Regions from separate parts of the Homo sapiens genome. Here regions 1 and 2 are each linked to region 3. The links are contacts of gene promoters, found by promoter capture Hi-C in blood cells and fetal thymus (Javierre and others, 2016). All regions are on one chromosome and are shown on one strand. Each heading gives the region's core, a stretch centred on a gene start or on the middle of the fragment in contact. The rest is flanking DNA. Distances are from core to core; before and after follow the strand shown.

What was found. The method cuts DNA at HindIII sites, captures the fragments that hold promoters and counts their contacts. A CHiCAGO score of 5 or more calls a contact.
Region 1: a fragment that was not itself captured here is called in contact with the fragment with the promoter of ALDH1A3 in region 3 in 5 of 17 cell types (M1 macrophages, endothelial precursors, M2 macrophages and 2 more); the score reaches 11.7 in M1 macrophages.
Region 2: a fragment that was not itself captured here is called in contact with the fragment with the promoter of ALDH1A3 in region 3 in 1 of 17 cell types (endothelial precursors); the score reaches 6.9 in endothelial precursors.

Annotation. Positions count from the first base shown.
Region 1 is chr15:100,645,218-100,649,757 of GRCh38, forward strand. It overlaps ASB7 (ankyrin repeat and SOCS box containing 7), which reads left to right. Exons shown (of 6, transcript NM_198243.3): 6 at 3,106-4,540. The coding sequence ends at 3,245. It also overlaps the pseudogene WDR12P2. Among named protein-coding and RNA genes, the nearest start is that of ASB7, 45 kb to the left of the region's middle. The HindIII fragment of the contact is 358 bases long and covers 1,417-1,774 here.
Region 2 is chr15:100,721,254-100,725,867 of GRCh38, forward strand. The region is part of intron 1 of LOC105371024 (a long non-coding RNA gene); the gene reads left to right. Among named protein-coding and RNA genes, the nearest start is that of ASB7, 120 kb to the left of the region's middle. RefSeq lists an enhancer at 546-1,745. The HindIII fragment of the contact is 4,853 bases long and covers 60-4,614 here.
Region 3 is chr15:100,876,336-100,881,275 of GRCh38, forward strand. ALDH1A3 (aldehyde dehydrogenase 1 family member A3) reads left to right here and starts at 3,496. Exons shown (of 13, transcript NM_000693.4): 1 at 3,496-3,671. The coding sequence starts at 3,573. It overlaps LOC124903575 (collagen alpha-1(I) chain-like), which reads right to left and starts at 3,468. Exons shown (of 1, transcript XM_047433433.1): 1 at 2,611-3,468. The coding sequence starts at 3,468. The coding sequence ends at 2,686. GCAWKR (gastric cancer associated WDR5 and KAT2A binding lncRNA) reads left to right here. Exons shown (of 4, transcript NR_160703.1): 4 at 1-543. RefSeq lists a silencer at 3,417-3,536 and an enhancer at 4,028-4,542. The HindIII fragment of the contact is 4,913 bases long and covers 2,223-4,940 here.

The DNA.
Region 1 (4,540 bases), core at 346-2,845, 230 kb before region 3:
CACAGTTTCTGTTTTATAAACACGAACTTTTGTATTATAAATACAAAATAAGAAAAGACAGTGATATGTTAGGTGTTATGAAGGGTGAAAACTTTATATAAACTTCAAAAGGCTGCTTTCTGCATCTGCATCAATGTAATTTCATGATTCTCTACCAATTTTCATTTATAGAAAGAATCTCTATAATCAAATTATCATTCGAGTTCATGCCCCCCGGAATATCTGTAGGAATACAGTTTATTATCTGCTCCTCCACTCGGAAGGAGCCCTGTGTCTGTCTAGTCTGCTCTCAGAACTTTCTCTTCATGAGCAGCCACATCATAGAGAGGAGCCTTACAACTTCTTGAATCCCACAGCTTGACGGTGTTATATAAGGATCCTGAAATCTGCTGTGGTTCATGGGTAGGAGACCGTTTTACTGATGTCTCCCAACCTGTATGTGAGGTTAGGGACGGCAACACGAAAGAACCATCTTTAGTTTGGGGATCCCACAGTCTGATATGCCTATCTGTGCTTCCAGATGCTAAACATTTACAAAGTGGAGAATAGGAAATACAATTAAACACTTTATTTCCTGTAAAGTTGACTTAAGATTGCCAAACGCGACATCCCACACGCTAATTTCATGGTCCCAAGATACGCTGCAGATTTCTTCAGCATCTGACCACAGCACTGAGGAGATTGCTTCCTTGTGGCCAGAGAAGGTCACTATGGGAGTCCTTGTTAGTCCCAACTGCTCTGTTTTCTGTTTCTTTCTTGGTCAGTTTGTGGATTCCTCCATTTCATCTTCTTCTGTAGGGACAGTAGACCAGATCCTTAGCATCTTATCTCAGGAGCCACTGCAAAATTTAGTTCCTGAGCTATCAATAGCTGTGGAATCTACACTTGGGCAGCAGCATAGGGTTTTCACTTTGTTTCTCTGGACATTCCACTCCCATAAGAGAATAGTCTGATCCATAGAGCCACTCAATAGTAACACAAACTGTCTTTTGTCACCCAGGCCACATCTGTTAACAATATCCATGTGTCCCACAATTGTCAATGTTGACTTTCCTTCCAAGGACCAGATTCGAGAAGTCTCATCATAAGAACCAGTCAAGATCCATACCTCTGTCCCTTGAATTGAACTGGTCCACTCATCAAGGACACTTCATTCTGGTTGGGGTGCGGTGTACTTCTCCGCGTATTCTCTTTCCACAACTTCTTTTAAGGAGGTGTTCTCCCGTTCCATGTGTTTGACCAAGGGCATTCACAGAAACTGACCCTTAATAAGGAAATCAAACTCCACATATTTGTGGAACTCATTTCTGCCCTTTAGTAATTAATTGATGATGTTACTAAGGTCAACACTTTAAGAGACAGCAGGGATTGAGAAGGCAACATCATTGATGGCCTATTTCTTGTGATCAGTGTAGAAGCTTGTTTGCAGCTGAGCCATGTCAGGGAGTGTACACGACTTGCCCACAGTTATGGGTTAGTAGGCTGAGAACGGGAGCTCCTGTCTCTTAGGACTACAAAGAGACAGCTCAAAATTACACTGCACAGGTAAGCGAGAAGTTGCGGTGTAATCCCGGACTCTGTTTTCTCTCCATGGGTCTCCTCCTGATTTTCATAATAACACTGAGACATGATTTGCCTTTCTCTCATTCCTTTTATCATGAGTGTCAGTTTTTTCCAGAGACGAGGTGGTGTGATTGATGTGACTTATCTCAACAGATTGAATTCAGAAGCATATATGAAAATTCAGCTATCATCTATTAAACCATACATTAAAAGCTTTGCAAAAATGTGAAAGAATGACGTTCTTGTTAAATTTTTTTTTGGTTTTGGAAAATATAGTTACTTTTCATAATGATGTGTTATTTATGTTAACATGTAATGGTTTATTAGAATGAATTTAAAAGTATTTCTAAAATGTCTGTTTTAACTTATAATATGGCATTTACTATAGAGATAGCCCACATAAAAGTTTCTGGGGGTTCGCAATAATTTTTTAAAGTGTAAAGGAGTTTTGAAAACAAAAAGTTTGAGAATGACTGAAAAATGGCATTCAACTTGACTTTAAGCATGTTACTTAATCTCTCTGAGACTCTATAAAATGGGGATGATGATCAAAGTACTTCCCTCGTAAAAGGATGAAAGGAGTTAATACATGTCATGAGCTCTTAACAATACATGGCGCAGAGTAAGTATTCAATATATATTAGCTTTATTATCATGTTTAATATGAAAGCAAAACTTCCTTGACTCCAAACACTACTGAAGCACAGTTGAAGAATTCTTCCTTGTTTTTGGAGCCATCTGTATTGTTTTTGTAAAACAAAATATTCCAAAGGGAAAGAAATAGGATTTTGTGATTTTTCTTTTGAATTGAGATATAACGGGTTTTTATTGGCAAGTGATCAGGGTGTGGAAGCTTGAAGCGATGTAGATTCAGAATACCTTGAGGCGCTTTTTCACACCCCCTTCTGCTGCACTCCTCAACTGTCAGCCTTACAACCAAGGTTCTGCTGTGTTCAGAATCACGGAAAACAGGTGAGCAGATCTGGAAAGCTTGTTTGGAAAGCTCCACAGAGACCGTGGTGGGTGTCCGGGCTCCAGTGTCCTAGACCCAGAGCTGAAAGGGAGGCTCACAATAGGGGACATCTCTTTCAGTCCCCACACTTTTCAGATTGAGAAGCCAAGGCTCAGAGGAATGATTGGCTCACAGTGGCTCACCCAGCGTGAGAGAGACCTAGTCAGGACGAGAACCAGAATTTTCCTGATTTATAACAGAAAGGATATGAGGCTTAGAATCAAAACTGTTTTTGGTCTCAGTTGAAAGCCTTAATTGGTTGTCTGATATTAAGCAACTTGTTTACATCTGATACTCAGTTTTCTTATTGGTAAAATGGAGTTGAAAATATCCACCATCCCACGGTTGTGAAAAGGATCAAATAAGGCATCGCATGAAGGTCCTAGGACACTTTGAGTTGGTATCTTTCCGGTCCTTTGCATGTCAAGTCCATAGAGAGAACTTCCAGGGAAATGAACAGTTCTTTTCAAAAGTGCCTTAAATATTGTGCTTTGTGGCTTTGTAACATTTTCTTTTTTCTGTCTTTTTAGGACAGCCCAGAAACTTGCAGGACCTGTGCCGAATTAAAATTCGACAATGTATAGGCCTTCAAAACCTAAAGCTACTTGATGAACTACCAATTGCCAAGGTCATGAAAGACTACTTAAAACACAAATTTGATGATATCTGATATGCCAGAACTGTGAGCAAGATTAGGAGTTCTATTCTAGATACTTAAAAGGCTTTTTGCCTTGCACAAAGTATATCCTATGCAATTTCTGATTTGCTGTGAAATCAGAAAGCAGGTATACACTTTTGGGTTTTCTGTTTGTTTGGTTGGTTTTCATTGTAGGGGAGGGATTTTTTATATATATATAAAAACACACACCACATGCTTGAAGGTCTTAATTTGGTTTCTTGGTCCAAGTTTAAGAGGTCCAAGCTTTGTATACAATACTGCATTTAGAAAAATTGTCTTTTCTTAAATGACACAAGCAGGTTTAGAGTGGAGAATTTACCCTTTCCAAATTTATGGTTCCTTGGTAAGCACGGTATTCTAAACCAGCAGAGCACTTGTTAACGTTTGGAGGCACAGTTTCACCCAGGGCGACCCTGGGTTCTTTTGGAAAATGCCCTAAGAAATGTTTGAAGTAACGCTGTCACCTCATTCATTTTTAATGAGTACAAACTGGCCGTTTCAAACTGTTCTTTTTCCTAATTAATGTAGCTTTCGGATGACATAAATCCAGTATCTCTGCTTATGACATAAATCCAGTACCTCTGCTTTTCTTTTGCTGTGCTCTTGTTTTTAACTTATTTTTTTTTTAACAACTGTAGTACACTACCCTGAGACACTGCATCTCGATTTCTATCTCTAGTTAGAGTTGTACTTTTAAAAAAATTAACGGGAAAGAAAATAACTTTGTGAAGCCAGTGTATTCTGTTTTTAAAACTGTGCCTGCAGTGCAATACTCCTTCTGGTGTATTTTATCCATTATTTCACTTGCTGGTCGTCATTTCACAGCCAGCTTTGACATGCCCGTGAGGACAGGAGCCGCCGCTTCAGTTGTCACTGCAGAGCCATCGTATGTCAGTTGCAATTTCCATCTGAAGCTATGTCTTTGACTTCACTTTAAGCAGAAAATTTTGTACCCTGGTGGTCGAGTCTTCCCTTAAAAATTGTTAAATCATTTGGCTTTAATGGTTCAATAATTTGGGGTGGCTTCATGGTGTTTCTTTTCTTCCCAGTTTAAAAAAAAAACTTTTTAAGCGTAAAATCTTTAAGGGGTACACATTTATAAGTCTGGCTAATTTCTAATATGCTAATTAAACATTTCCCATTTTAAGGTTATATACAGTGAGGCTCTTCAGGACAATTATTTTCTGGGTTGATTGGGCATATGTTTGCCGTGTAAACACGGATATGATAAAGTGTCAGTAACAATGGAAAAGGTCCCAGAGGCATTAGGCATCTAAGAGGATGCC
Region 2 (4,614 bases), core at 1,236-3,735, 160 kb before region 3:
CCTCAAGCCGTTTGTATCCTTATTTATGTAAGTGACTAATTCTTTCATGGGTAGAGCCAAGCTTTCTGTCTCAGTTACATAGAGATACTGAGACAAATTACTCATGAACATTCCAGAAAAGATGAGTATCTACAAATTATTGAGACAGTTTCAATATGTAAATAGTATTGTTGAATACGATTTCTCACAGTTATCCAAGTTAGATTGGATACGGTAAGTGGGTAATTCCAAGCTAGTTATCCCCTTTACACATGGCATAGTGCCCCATCGTTGGGTCTTCCCAGCCTGCCATGTCCACGTGGCCGGGATGCTCCCAGGAGCTGCTGGGGAAAGGAGGGCGGGCTGCAGGCTGTGTCTTGAAGGCTGAGAATTTAACGCCGCTGCCCTCGATGTGCCATAGCTTGTTGGTAGAGCAGTGTCCATTTGAAGGGAGGTAGCTCCTGAATTTACTTTATTTTTGCAATACCCTTCTGAGGAGCTAATTGGCCCTAATAAACCTTGCAGAACATAAGCCCTGCCCAAATGGGGAGAACCACCTGCTGTCAAGAGTCAGCCAGCTGCAGTATCAGCCCCTGAAGAGGACGAGCTAGCAGTGCTGATGTCAGGGAACTTTCCACTCCTCAAACCGACAGGAACAGGACCGTGAGCACAAAACGTGAACACGGACCAGAACGAGTTGGCATGCAGGACTAGGTTGCCTTGACGACTCTGAGTTCTGACAGGGAAATACAATGAGTTTTATGTGGACAGAGTTCCACGGTCTATTGCAAAATCAATGTGCTGTTTGAATGAATCATCACTTCCAACCATTGGTCATTGGTGTCTGAATCTTGATTGCAGATGAAGCACTGAGTCATGACTGTAAAATGCCACAGTATTTATGAAAACCAAGAAGGTTTTTTATTTATCCTGACTAGCTAAATCAAGGTAGGTCATCCTAATAATACTTGTCCACACAAGTGGCAACCCCTTGCCAAAGAAATGCAAACAGAAGCCTGGGATGTTTCCAGCTCTCCTTAACTTCCTTCCCCGACCTCCCTGACACCAGCCAATGGGTCCTTTAAGAAGTGTGAGAGAGCCAGTAGATGGTAGGCCCCCGCTTCAAACTCGCCATCTTGTCCCTTGATCCAGTGACTATACCTGGAATTTGGCCTCTAAGCGAGTGTTTCTTTTTGCACTTGGACTTCTTGAGAGATTACTCATTACTCAGGAGATAACACCAAAGCATTCTCAAAACCAATCTTTGGAACTGGCTTCCAGGATTATACATGCAGGATTAGTCATACAGAAAATCCTTAAAGATAGCAAATTTGGGTCCTTTGAGAGTGTATTTGGTTTGTGAAAACAAAGCCATTGGTAACCAAGCCAAAAGCAAACATGTGATTCTAACCCATGAATTCAGAATTTTTCAGGCAGCTGACCCTAAAGACACTTTTTTCAAACAGGTGACTCCTTTTCATTAATTCATTAATCAGTTGTTGAGATAGTGAAAGAAAAAAGAAACTGAAAGAAATCATCATTACCAGAAATACTTGGGTTCAAATTCTAGCTCTAAAACTTCTTAGCTGTGTAACTTTGGGCAAGTCACTTAACCCGTCTGGGCCATATCTGAAAATTTTCCCTAAGGGAAAAAAAAAACTAAGGTTATTGCTCTTCCTTTTTGCTGCTTCTCCTCCTCTGAGTTGAGGCTCCTTTCCTGATGGAACATTGCCTTCATTCCCCTCTTCTCCCTCTACCCAGGGGTGTATTGGTAAATTGGAACTCTGGGGAAAAAAGTCACAAAGCCCTGATCTGTGGCTTTTGCCAATTTCTGTGGTGTACATACTTCCACCATGGCTGACTTTAATTTCCCAACAGTTAAACAACAGGTTCACGAAGTTCTTAAATATTTAACAGCTGGGCCCTGTGGACCATGGGTGCTGGCTGCAGCATGTCACACTGCCTCTACCCTCTCCCCTTTCTCCTTTTTACTTTCCTGAGAGCATGGTGGATGTCGTCTGATATAATTTCCATCCATGTCTCTGCTTTTTATATTTAACCAGCTTCCAAAAATAGTTTCCTTACTTCCATTAGTTCTTAACCAGGGAGTGTGCTGGAATTCAGGTGGTCTGGTCACTGCCTCTCATCTTCCCGAATTCTTCTTGGCCATATCACCAGCAGGAATTTTCAAAGGGGACACAGCGCTCTTTGTTTTTTAAAGGGCTGTGCCAATTTGCCTTTGGGTTTCCTCATTCTATCAGAGTAGAGTGCTGATCTAGTACCTGTATAATTCTCCTTGGCAGAAGTGCTCAGGGCTTTTTTTTTTCTTTTCCTCATCTAATCGCATTCCACTTCTAACAGCCTGGATGAGTTGTGCAAACCCAAGAAATAAAGAAAAGAACAGGCAGTTCTGATATCGTCACAGGGCCACTTAATGACATGGGCATCAGAAGGAGAGAGTACCATCCACAGACATTCTCAAAGCAATGCGCCTGACGCATCAGAAGATCCTCCTTGTGGGGCCAGACTTAGGCATCAAAAACATCCATGTATTATGATCTCACTCTTGTGAGAAGGACCTCTCAGCACCCAAAGGTCAATAGTGATATTTACTGGGCACCTACTATGTCACAGACTATTTCATTTCGGCTCCCCCATAGCCCTAGGCAGGTGGAATCATTATTCTTGTTTTCTAGTGAGGGTATGTCACATGCCCAGGATTGGCAAAAGAGTGGGGCAATTGTCCTGCTCATAAGTCTTGGTGGGAGTGTATAAGTTAACATAATCCTCCAAAAGGCAATTTTGCCCTACATCTCAAAGTCTTAAAAATCTTCATCATGGCTGGGCATGGTGGCTCATGCCTGTAATCCCAGCACTTTGGGAGGCCAAGGCAGGTGGATCACTTAAGGTCAGGAGTTTAAGACCAGCCTGGTCAATGTGGTGAAACCTCATCTCTACGAAAAATACAAAAATTAGCTGGGTGTGGTGGCAGGCACCTGTAATCCCAGCTACTCAGGAGGCTGAGGCAGGAGAATCGCTTGAGTTCGGGAGGCGGAGGTTGCAGTGAGCCGAGATAGTGCCACTGCACTCCAGCCTGGGCAATAGAGTGAGACTCCATCTCAAAAAAAAAAAAATATTTATCATGTCACTTAATTGTGTTAGCCAGGATAAGCTCACTTCTGTAACAAACAACCCTCAAATCCTAGTGACAGAAGAAAGCAGGGGTTGGCAAACTCTCTGTATGGACTGGGGGGAAATACTTTTAGGCTTTGCAGGCCATACGGTCTTGCAACTCTCACCGCTGCTGTTGTCCTGTGAAAGCAGCCACAGATGGGATGTAAATGAACTGGCGTGACTGTGCTCCAATCAAACTTTATGTAAGGGCACTGAAATTTGAATTTCATATAATTTTCCTGTGTCACAAAATCCTATTCTTTAAATCCTTTTTTAAAACATAAAACCTGGCCGGGCGCGGTGGCTCACGCCTGTAATCCCAGCACTTTGGGAGGCTGAGGCGGGTGGATCACGATGTCAGGAATTCAAGACCAGCCTGATGAACATGATGAAACCCCGTCTCTACTAAAAATACAAAAATTATCCAAGCGTGGTGGCGCAGGCCTGAAATCCCAGCTACTTGGGAGGCTGAGGCAGGAGAATCGCTTGAACCTGGGAGGTGGAGGTTGCAGTGAGCTGAGATCGGGCCTCTGCACTCCAGCCTGGGCAACAGAGCAAGACTTTGTCTCAAAAAAAACAAAACAAACAAAAACAAACAAACAAAAAAACCCATAAAACCCATTTTGAGCTCACATACAAAAGTCCATACAAAAACAGGCAGGCGGCTGGATTTGGCCTGCAGTCTGCAGTTGGCTGACCCCTGGCTTAAAGCACTGGAATTTTCTTTTCACTGATGCAGTGGTCCCACATGGGGGATCCTGGCTGGGCTGGAAGGCTCTCCCAGGTGGCTCTTATTCAGTGGCAACCCAGGGAAGGGACCCGCGGTGCTTCTGTCCTGTGCCCTGCCCTCTCTAGTCCTCAGGGGCTTCCCTATTCAGCAGGCAGATGGAGAGAGGTCATGGAGTCTTGTGTGGGAGGTTTTCATGGATGGTTTGGAGGTGGCTCCCGTCATTTTCCCCACATTCCTTTGTTGGAAGTCAGACATGCAGCTGCTCTGAACTGAACAAGAGATGGGAAACAGAGTGTAGCAGTGTGCACAGGGAGACCCCGGAGCAGTGTGTTCACTGACCAAAGACCATGCCATGTTCACATGTATTTCCACGCTGTAGCATGACTACAAAGGTACAGGCGGGAAGCTAAGCTGGCCTGGAGGGACTTTGCAACAATGGCTGAGCCTGAGTGAATCACATGGACCTGAGCCCTGGGTGCCCCTCCACCTGTTCTTGGGCCTGGATCCTCAAGGTCATCACTGCAGTGCGTGGTACCATGCAGTGAACTCTGTAGAACGTTTCGGCCTCTTCTGTTGCACCTTGGGGACATAGCCACAGAGGCCAAGGCCACAGGTGGGCTGGAGACACTCCAGTGGCACAGGGCTGACCCCTTTGGACTGAGTAAACCCAGAGCTCCTGAAGTTTTGGGTTAAGGGGAATGGGATCGGGGGTGTGGGGAGCTGCTAACAGG
Region 3 (4,940 bases), core at 2,246-4,745:
TTCCCTACATCAAAGAACTACCCTCAGCCCAGGGGCCTGGCTGTCTAGGAAGGGTTCAGAAGGCACACCCAAGACTCAGGCCCCTGCCTCAACTCCACAACACTGAGGGAGGTGAGTAGACTGGGTGGGAGGGGCAGCTCTGCAGCTGGCCAGAGGCTGCGGGGACACAAGGGGTACTCAGCAGACCTGGGCGTCTCTCCACAAGGCTCAGGTACCAGATCTGAAATAACATGAAACACAGTAGGGGGTTCATCAACGTCATCATCATTATTCACTACGTTTGCTTCAGACCTCAACATCACCCACAGATGATTATGGGTTTAGAAATGGAATGAGGTTGAACTTAGGGGGTGACCACCTGACTTCTGTTTTATCTTTGTCTTTTATTCATGCTTCTTTTTACTGAGTGGTCATCCGCAAACAAGCCTGCAACATGACATGTCTTGGACTCAGCTCATTTGATGCACCAACAAGACAAACAGCAGACAACGGCAGCACCACAGAGCTGGAAACAAAATGAATAAATACTTTTTCACAATGAAATGAGCAGAGGGACTGTTGACTTGGGGGGCTCCCGCAAGCCAGAGACAAGTGGGGGGAACTTGCTGACTTCCAAGAAGAAAAGCCAGCAAAGAGGAACCAGTCTCCAGGAAGAATATGAAAATGAAGAGCTGGTATGTAGGTAGCACTTCTTGAGAGCCTTATCTTGCTTAAGCCTCCCCAAACACTGTAAAGTAAGTGGGAAGGAGATTATGGAAAAGAACACTGAAGTTCAGAGAGATCAATATCCCATCCAAGGGTGCATAGCTGGGACTCAGTTCAGGGATGTGAGCAGAAGGGGCTGGGCCTCTGCCATCTCCGATGCTCAGGCACCTCATCACTGAACCAAACACCCAGCAACCCACTGTGAGCAAAAATAAATCTTCCTCCTTCCCGGCCCCTGTGGTCCCTGCCTCTGAGGCCACAGCTAGGAGATATGGTTCCTAGGAAAGGCACAACGAAAAGGGATACTCCCGCCATTTTTGACCTTCAAAGCCCTTCGTGTCTTCACTATGCCCTATGCAGCCCCAGTGACATGGGACCACCCTGGGTCATAGGTGCTCACCTGCTTGAAAGAATAGGTCAGAGGAATGTCAGAGAAGCCCCTCCTCCCTGCACTGCACCACCCACTCTCACACAGTCTGGCCTTAGTTTCTCGACCGATGGTGATGTCTGGGGCAAGTGTCTGCACGCCTCTGTTTACTCACCCGTAAAATGGGGAGAAGCGCATTTGCCTCCACCCCTCCTGCCGATGGGAGCAGAGGTAGAGCCTGCTTGTCTGGACAAGCCCAGAGCTAGGCCCATCCTCCTGACCTGCTCTCTGGGAGCCACCTACTGTGACAAAGTCTATGGCTGAGTGCTCCAGTCTGATCTCAGGCTCCCAGGATCACGTGGGTATCAAACGGAGGAGCTGCAGGTGAGCCAGTCGGCATCTTTGCAACTGGCTCCTGAGACCAGACGCCTCGGGTCACAAGGATGTCTGAGTGTGAGGTGAGGTGGCTTTCATTCCTGACTTCATAGCCAACAAAGTGGTGACTGTCTATCTTTGACCAAACAGGCTCGACTATCTTCCCTAAAGGAGCAGAGTTCTAAGCTCAACCCCATTTGCCTCCCCCATCAATCCAGCAATTATTTAATTAACACAGTTTCCTCTATAAATTTTATTTCAGATTTTTTTTTAAAATCCTGGCAGTGACATAATTTCAACCATCAAGGACCCCCGATAAAGTCTCAGGATGGGAGTTCAGTTTGTAAAGCATCTCTAGTTGCAGCTTCCTGGGGCCTGCTGCACACACTGGCCTTGGGCCCCTGGCCTCCATCCATGCAGGAGGGGTTTGTCACTACTCCCTGACGGTCCTCTTGGGCTCAGGCACCCAAACGCTAGGGCTCAGCACCCAGCCGGGGGCCGTGGCATAGCACATCTGCCCAGATGTTTTCAGGAGATCTGAGTGGGAGCCATGGGGCCAGCCAAGAGGGCAGGGAGCCCCGGATTTGCAGAAGCAGCTGAGGAAAGAGCTGGCATTGCTCAGACTCGCCAGTGTTAGCCAGCCGATATCGGTCAAGGCTGCCCCGCTCGAGGGTCCATTATCCCCTTTCCCCGGCCTCAGCTGTGCACTCCAGGCCATAACAGCACAAGACCTTTCCACAACCCCAGGGTAAGGGTCAGATGTGGGGTTTCCAAAAGCTTCAAAACTTACCCCTCTATCCAGCTCTATCCAGAAGGACACCAGGGGACAGAGAGATGGACACGGAGGCCTCAAAACAGGAAAATAAGGAGACCCCTCCCCATTGTTGATTACTTGGGGTTACCTACAGAAAGAGATGAACTGAAGGGGCTGAGCCTATCTGAGGATTAAAGCACAGCTTTTGTCAGGAGTCCGTGCCTCCGGTCTTTGTTCCAGCGACCTGAGGAATGGCATGCATCAGAAGCCGCTTCCGTGTCTCAGATGGGGCCTGGGTCAAGTCCTGGGAGTTGATGGAGCGTTTCCCAAATCGCAAAAGGAGAGGAGCTAGACTTACCTCCCCCTCCTGGGAAGTAATGCGCGACAAGAATTTAAACTCTTAAAACGATTAGCAGCAAAGGTCTCATGTGCTTTTTTTTAATTATCATTTTTTAATCGAGGTATAATTTATGCATTTAAAAAATCAGATCAATTGCCCCCCGGGCTCTGGGATGGAAGGCGGTGTGCGCCTGCGAAGGTCAGAGGCCCAGCGGCGCCAGGGCTCCTCGGCGGAGAGCCGCCCGGGTCCGGCGCTTTGCTTTCGCCTTCTGCCCCACCGCGGGCGAAGCCCCAGGGCCCCGGGGAGACTCCAGGCCGGCTGGGCCGGGGTGCGCCCGCCGGCTGTCCGCGCTCGGGCAGGGTGGGGCGCAGCGGGCGTCTGTCCTGCTAGCGGGGATCGGGCGGCTGGACCCAAGAGCAGGGCACGTGCGCAGCGACGCGGGGCGGCCCCGCCAGGAGCCCCGACCCGGGCGCGGCGCAGGGCCCGGCGGAGAGCGCGCATTCCCGAGCGCCGCGAGCCGGCCGAAGTCGGGCGAGCGCGCCGTGCGGCGGCTGGGAGTGGGCTGCATGTGCCGCGCGGGGAGCCCGCCCGACTTCGGGGAGGCAGCGGGGCGCCGTGGCCCCGCGGCTCAGCTCCCTGCCGGGTCGGGTGTCCCAGCCCTGCGACTTCCGGGGCCCGGCGGCTCCTCGGGGAGCTCGTCCACAGGCAGCCTCCGGGGCGAGAGAGCGCGCGGCGCGGGCGCCGGGACGGTCCGCGGCACGCGGGTGGAGCCGCCGGCGCTCGGGCTCCCGCAGGGGCGGCGGGCGGGGCGGGGTGAGGCGGGCCGGCCGCCCTCCCCTCTCCTCCCTCCCGCAGCCCGCCCTCCCTTCCTCCGGTCCCGCAGCCAATTAGGCGGCCCCCTCGGGCGGGAGGCGTGGGGCGCTGCATAAAGCGGCGGGGAGCTGCCACCCCGGGAGCGGGCTGCGCAGTGTCCGGGCCGAGCCGGTGCGCCGCAGACTAGGGCGCCTCGGGCCAGGGAGCGCGGAGGAGCCATGGCCACCGCTAACGGGGCCGTGGAAAACGGGCAGCCGGACAGGAAGCCGCCGGCCCTGCCGCGCCCCATCCGCAACCTGGAGGTCAAGTTCACCAAGGTGAGGCGGGCGCCCCTCCCACCCGACGGCCGCGGGCCCCTGCGCTGGGCAGCCAGACTCGGGGCGGCGGGGGCGAGGGAGCAGCGGGCCGGGGGTCCGCCGGGCGCCGCCGAGACCCGAGCCTCCCTGCCCGGGCGCGGCTCTCCAGAAACCGCACCTTTCGCGGGACGTCTCGGGCGGGATCGCAGGCGGCGGGGCTCGGCGCTGTGAGCCTCGAAGCCGGGAAACCGAGGCCGTCCAGCGCCCGCGCGGGGCCGGGCCGCCCGCATCCCTGCGAGGCCCCGACGTGTCCCTGCGCTGCCCGCTTTGATCGCGAGTGGAGGTGCGCGCCGCGTTGACTCGGAGCGCGCTGGTTTTGGGGAGCTCCCTCCCCAAAAACCCCTGCGATGATTTCCAGGGTGGACGAGTCTGGCTTTGAGAGGGTCGGAGGGTCCGAGAGCGCCAAGAGAGAGTCCGGGAGGCAGATGGCGGAGCTGCAGTTGGAAGACTGGGGAAGCGGGTCCTCCGAGCAAAGCGCAGCGGGCGCCTTCCGTGCTTAGTTTATACCCGGCTCAGCAGCAGAACGAGGAGGAGTAGGAAGGTGCTCGCTTACTGACGAAACCTCCCCGGAGCCCAGAGGTCCCGGTGTTTACACACAAGGCGCGCGCTCCGGAAGGTCGCAGACCTGGGCCTTTGGGAAGCGGTGGGTCGCGAGGCCGCAGAAGCGCACGGTTCTCTGCCTCCTCGCTCTGTGGGCTGGGAGGCTACAGCGTTGGCAGAACGGCGAGATTACCTGCCCGGGGCAGAAAGGAATAAAAGAAGATGGTGAGGCCTCCGAGGCCTCTGAGCTGGGGCTGAGGAGGGCCGAGAGACCCGGGTCCGGGAGCGCGACCCGATGGAGGACACCCCCAGGCTGTCTGGCGTGCGCGTCTGTCGTGGGCCGGTGCTGGGGCACTTTAGAGGCACAGGCCAGGCCGAGAGCCATTGCCTTAACTTTCCCCACCTTTGGCTTCTCTTGATTTTTGCTTTTACCCATAGCCCCCAACTCCAGCTGACACCGCACTTAGAGAATTTCCTCATCCGTTTTACTTTAAGAAGTAGCAATTATCTTTCTCAAAGAATTTTAATCAAGCGGAGAAAGTTGCAGGGCACTATGTGTGGCCTTCAGATTTGGGTCTCTTGGCACTTAATTCCCAATGTCGGCTGAGCCTCTGATCACAAGACATTTAAATTAACTGTTTTCAGAAGGCTCTGTAATCAACAAAGACACGTCGCTGTAAACTAAACGCT